Linked DNA regions of Homo sapiens: region 1 is linked to region 2. Evidence: promoter capture Hi-C in human tissues and cell types (Jung and others, 2019). All regions are on one chromosome and are shown on one strand. Each heading gives the region's core, a stretch centred on a gene start or on the middle of the fragment in contact. The rest is flanking DNA. Distances are from core to core; before and after follow the strand shown.

Region 1 (2,700 bases), core at 17-2,516, 570 kb after region 2:
CAGGCCCGCTCAGTCCAGTTCAGATTCTAAAGCTTACACAGTGGGAGGGAGGGAGAGGCTTATCTGGCATAATGCCCTTTCCTCAGATTCTAGAATATTGGTAATAACAGGCGTGGGTCCCGGCATGTCATTAGAAGAAAGCTGGCAGCAGCCTCACTCTTGTGTGCCTTTCCACCATCTGAAGCAGAGACAAAGGACACTTATCCAAAGAGAAAAATTAGATTAGGCAATTTACCAATTCATGGAATTCATTCAGTTGTTTCTGTCCTTTCCTTTTCAAGTAGCTGTGTCCCTATCTGCCTCCTACAGGCAGTACCTGGACAGGTCAGCCTGTGTGTCTGCAGAACTCTCTACTGCTGGGGGACCCTGTCCAGGATCACTGGATTGATGTCACTGGAAGTGAAGGTAGAGGGCTGTTTCTTGGTTCAGTTAGCTGATTTAGCTACAGTTCATTTCCCTTCTAATTTTGGGCTTGACAAGGCAGACCTGAGGGGAAAGACAGGCAGAGGCAGCTTTTGATGTCAGAGCTCTCCTACCTACCTGCCCCTCTCCTGCCTATCCTGTTCTATGCTCTCCCCCAATCCTACAGTAGAATTATCAGAGGAAGAGAGGGCGTGATTGGCAGCTGGGAGGGAGCAGCCATCAGAGCTATGCCTCTCTCATGGAGCACCTGGAGAAAAGAAGATTCTAGCTTTTCCAGCCCATGAACAGCCCAGTGCTTATCTTCCACTGCATCCAAAAGGGAAGCTGGGGGTGTAGTGGAGGGTGGGCTTCTACTTTTTAAGAAAATGCATTTTTTTTTATTATAAATGTATTGCTTCCTTAGAAATAAAAAGGTATGAAAATGTATAGAGTTCAGAATAAAATTATTCTCTAATTCCTTACCCTGAAGATGATATTGTTAACGGATTGGTGCACTTTCTTTCCAGTGTGTTGCAGCTTAATTTTCTCACTTATCATTATGTCTTGGACATTTTCCCAAGTTTGTACATAGAATTCTATTTCATTCTTAATAACTCAATAGTATTACAGGGTATAGGCATAACATTATTCATTTAACTGGTGCTCCTATTAATGGATACTTTGTATTCTTTTTTTGTTATTATAAACAAAACAAAGCTGTACTGCACATCCTTTTAGATACTTCTTAGTGCATGTACGTAAGAATGTCTATAGGAAGAATCCCTAGAAATGGAATGGCTGAGTCAAAGAGTTTGCATATTTAAAATGTTGGAATGTATTGCTATATTGCCCTCTAAAATGTTTTAATAATTTACATACTCTTAGGTAGGTGTTCTTTAACTTTCAAGAGCCCTTACCAGTATGCAATATGTGAATTGCCTGACATTTTGACAACCTTCAATAACCTCTTTCAGTGAAGCTCAATATACTTTGTGTGCTTGGTACAGATACTATGGTAGGCATGGGGTGTTCAAGAATGTCTGAAGGTTGAATAGTACTCCAAACCTAGCCTACAGTGTGTGTCCTATGAAGCCTTGAAGTTAGGCATTGTACTCTCTTCTCTAGCTACAAAAGTCCTGGATGGCATCTTCTTCCAATAGAAGGCTATTTAATCTCCATGGAAAATTTGTTGTTTTGTGTGGCTACCATTATCAATAATCGCAGATCATCTGGATGAATTGCTGCAGCTTCTACACCAGAACTTGCTCCTTCATCTTATACTTTTTTGTTCTGGAGACAACTTCTTTCCTTAGAGGAGTTTTTGAGTAGGGGAAGAGACAAGTACAGCCATAGCTCAGAAATAATGTGGTTTAGTTCCAGACTAACACAATAAAGTGAGTAAAAAGAATGTTTTGGTTTCCCAGTTCATATAGAAGTTATGTTTACCTTATAAACTCTATTAAGTGTGCAAAGCATTATATCTACAAAAGTACATACCTTAAAAGTACTTTATTTGCTAAAAAAATGCTAATGATATCCAAACCATCAGCTACTTGTAATCTTTTTGCTGGTGGAGGGTCTTGTCTCGATTTTGGTGGCTGCTGACTGATCAGCGTGGTGGTTGCTGAAGGTTGGAGTGGTTGTGGCAATTTCTTAAAATAAGACAACAGGCTGGGTATATTGCCTCATACCTGTAAATCCCAGCACTTTGGGAGGCTGAGGTGGGAGAATCTTTTGAGGCCAGGAGTTTAAGACCAGCCTGGGCAACATAGTGAGACCGTGTGTCTACAGAAAATAAAAAGAAATTAGCTGAGTGTGGTGGTGCATGCCTATACTACCATCTACTAGGGAGGGTAGGATGGAAGGGTTGCTTGAGCCCAGGAATTCAAGGTTGTGCCACTGCACTCCAGCCTGGATGGCAGAGTGAGATCCTGCCTCAAAATATAAAACAAAATAAAATAAAATAAAATAAAATAAAATAAAATAAAATAAAATAAAATAAAATAAGATAAAATAAAATAAAATAAAATAAAGTAAAATAAAATAAAATAAAGTAAAATAAAATAAAATAAAATAGTAAAATAAAATACAAAAATGAAGTTTGCCACATCAATTGAACCTTCCTTTCGCTGAAAGATTTCTTTGTAGCACATGATGCTGTCTGGTACTATTTTAACCACAGCAGAACTTTTTTCAAAACTGAAGTCAATTCTCTCAAAGCTTTCTATTGCTTTATTAATATTGTTGTTTCAACAATATTCACAGCATCTTCACCAGAAGTAGATTCCATCTCAAGAA
Region 2 (2,700 bases), core at 5-2,504:
CGAAAGAGGCCAAATGGCCCCGCCCGTCCTCCCCGCCGGGAGAATCCGCAGCGGCGGGGTACAGGGGGCTCAAGGGCTCGTTCAAGGTCAAGCCGCCGCGGGGGGCAGTCAGGGGGCTCTTTTTGGTCGGGGAGCAGCCCGGGACGCTCCAGGGCTCGGGGTACAGTAGGTTTCCCACCACTGCCGGCGGCGGCTCAAAGAGGCCGGGCTCCAGCTCCGGGGGTCCCCGCAGTACGGAGGCTCCGGCGGGGAACACGTCGAGAGGCTCGGCGGCAAGCAAGACTGCCGCCTCCGTGCCGGCGCCGTAGTCGGGCCCCAGCAGCTCAAAGAACTCCACGGCCTCCGCGCCCTTCTCCAGGTCGCCCAAGCTCACGTCCGGCCCCGACGGGCCACACCCGCCGCCGCCTGCCCGGGACGGCTCCGTGAAGAAGGACGGAGGCAGATTGCGTGCCCGCAGCGGGACCTTCCTGGCCCCTGGGATCGCCGTGGCCCCCGCGGGGCCTGCCACGTCCCCTCCCGCGCCCCCAGTGCCCGCACCTCCTAGCCCGGCCGCCGGCGCAGCCACCTCACCCCCCGCCGGCTCGGCACCCCCGGGGACGTGGCGCAGCGAGTCGAAGAGCGCGGCCAGACTTCGGCTTTGCAAGCTGGCGGCCGCGGCGGCCTGCGACGCCTCCCGCCGGGGGGCAGCCTTGCCGTGGGCCGGGGCCGCGACTGTCGGGGCGCTAGGGGCGGCCAGCGGCCGTTTGGCTGGCGTGTCGGCGGCGCTCGGGGAGGGCGGGCCGGGGGGCGCGGCGCCCATGAGGCCGCTGCAGCGCTTGATCTGCTTCTGCAGGTACTTGCGGTGGTTCACCTTCCGCTTCGACTTGCCCGGCTTGTCCAGCGCCAGCTTGATGTTGCTGGACGCCGAGTCAATGAAGCTGAGTAGATCGCGGGTGGCCTCGCGCACGTCCCCTCCTTCGGCTCCCGACAGCAGCGCACCCGCCGGAGCCCCGGTCTCATCGTCCTCGAAACAGCAGCCCTTGTCCAGGGCTCCGAAGGCGCCCCCTAGCCCGTCCGGGGAGCCCCCGAAGCCGAAGGGCACGAAAGGGTGCGTGCTGAGGAGCGCCGCCTGCACCGCCATCGCCGCGGCTCCCGGGCTGTCCGCAGCGCTGCCCGTGCGCCCCCGCCAGCTCCTGCCCGCCGCCCAGACCCAGCTCCCGCCCCGGCGCGGCGCGCGCGGCGCAGCCTACTAGTTCCGGGCCTGGCTCGCTGCGCTGCCTCCCGGGGGAGCTCATTAGGTCTTGTAAGCAAGGGGCGGAGGGAGGGAGCGCGCGGCGACCGTCCCGGTGGTAGAGGGGAGGGGCTTACTTAGCCTGGCTTGGAGGAGTGGGGGGTCGCTTTAGTTTTCTGAGCTTTCTGAAGCTCAACGCCTTAACTCCTTCGTTTCCCTTTGCCCCGTGGTGTTTCTCTTGACTCCTCTAACCGCAAGGGGTGAGGAAGAGATGGCTGGTCTCAAACTCCAGTTCAGGCCCATGAGGCCGCTGCAGCGCTTGATAGGCTTCTGCAGGTACTTGCGGTGGTGCCTCTCCTGAGGCAAGAAGGCAGGAGTCTAGAGACGTGGGTTTCAGTCCAGCTGTATAACAACACCCACCAGCTTCTGGGCGCTTGCTTCTGCCAGGCGCTGTCCATCTATTATCTCATTTAATCCTTGAACAACAGCCCTGTGAATTACATGTTATCGCCATTCAACAAACGTGGACACTGCACCTCAGGGAGGTTCAGTGAGTTGGCCAAAGTCAGATCTAGCCCATTCTGACTCCAAAGCCATTCCTAAGCCCTTGACAATACTTGCGTCCTCTCTTGCCCTTGCCTTTCTCATCTATTAAGATGGGGAAGGAAAATGAGTATTTCTTAAAGCTCTAGACCTGATCCTAAGATTCTAACCTGAGTTTTCCCAGGATTCTCAAGCCCAGTGCTCTTTCTTCTTGACTGTTTGCCACTTGATTGTTACGAGTAACAATTGGCTAACAGTAAATTGAGGCCAGCAGTGGCCCATCTTTTATTAACACATAGCAGGAGGCAATGGAGAAAGGAGTCGATCTGGCTAAGCCCCCTGTTACTTGAGAACACTGTGTGTGTATAAAACTCTCAGCATGTTAGAATAAAAGATGGATTGGAACCTCTCCCCTACCTGTCATACCATTTAGGTTATCCCTGGAATTTTCATTGCATTTCAGGGATCATCATGAAGTTCACTTAAAACTAATTTCACCTGGGCAATCCTCTTTGGGATAGATAGAGAAAATGAGCAATAAGGTCATTTTCACAAGAGATTCAGAAGAGGCTTGGGTTCTGGTCTTAGCCACCACTCAATAACCTCATGACTTAGGTTGAAATCCTTGCTCTGCTGAGTGCATGGCTTTAGACAAACCAGCGTACTCTCTCTGTTTAGCTTACTCATGTTAAATGCAGGTAAAGTTGCCCTCCCCACAGGGCACTTGTGATATTTAAATGATACATTGTTCCATAGCCTGGATGAGTATTCACCCTTACTTCTCTGAAACACAAAAAGGTGACTATATCCCTTACGTGTCTTCTGGATCATAGGGTGTTCATGAGCATTAAGTGAGATCATAGATGCTTCTCAATTTGTGATAGAGCAACAACATCCTGATAAACACATTGTAAGTTGAAAATATTGTAGGTTAAAATGCATGTAAT

The links. Contacts are between HindIII fragments. The study calls those that stand out against the background at their distance.
Region 1: a fragment that was not itself captured here is called in contact with the fragment with the promoter of FAM181B in region 2 in 1 of the 25 tissues and cell types used here (mesenchymal stem cells).

Annotation. Positions count from the first base shown.
Region 1 is chr11:83,306,294-83,308,993 of GRCh38, forward strand. The region is part of intron 1 of CCDC90B-AS1 (CCDC90B antisense RNA 1); the gene reads left to right. It overlaps LOC105369420 (a long non-coding RNA gene), which reads left to right. Exons shown (of 2, transcript XR_950379.2): 1 at 1-405; 2 at 590-849. Among named protein-coding and RNA genes, the nearest start is that of CCDC90B, 21 kb to the left of the region's middle. The HindIII fragment of the contact is 4,088 bases long and covers 1-2,700 here.
Region 2 is chr11:82,732,610-82,735,309 of GRCh38, forward strand. It overlaps FAM181B (family with sequence similarity 181 member B), which reads right to left and starts at 1,255. Exons shown (of 1, transcript NM_175885.4): 1 at 1-1,255. The coding sequence starts at 1,120. The HindIII fragment of the contact is 21,418 bases long and covers 1-2,700 here.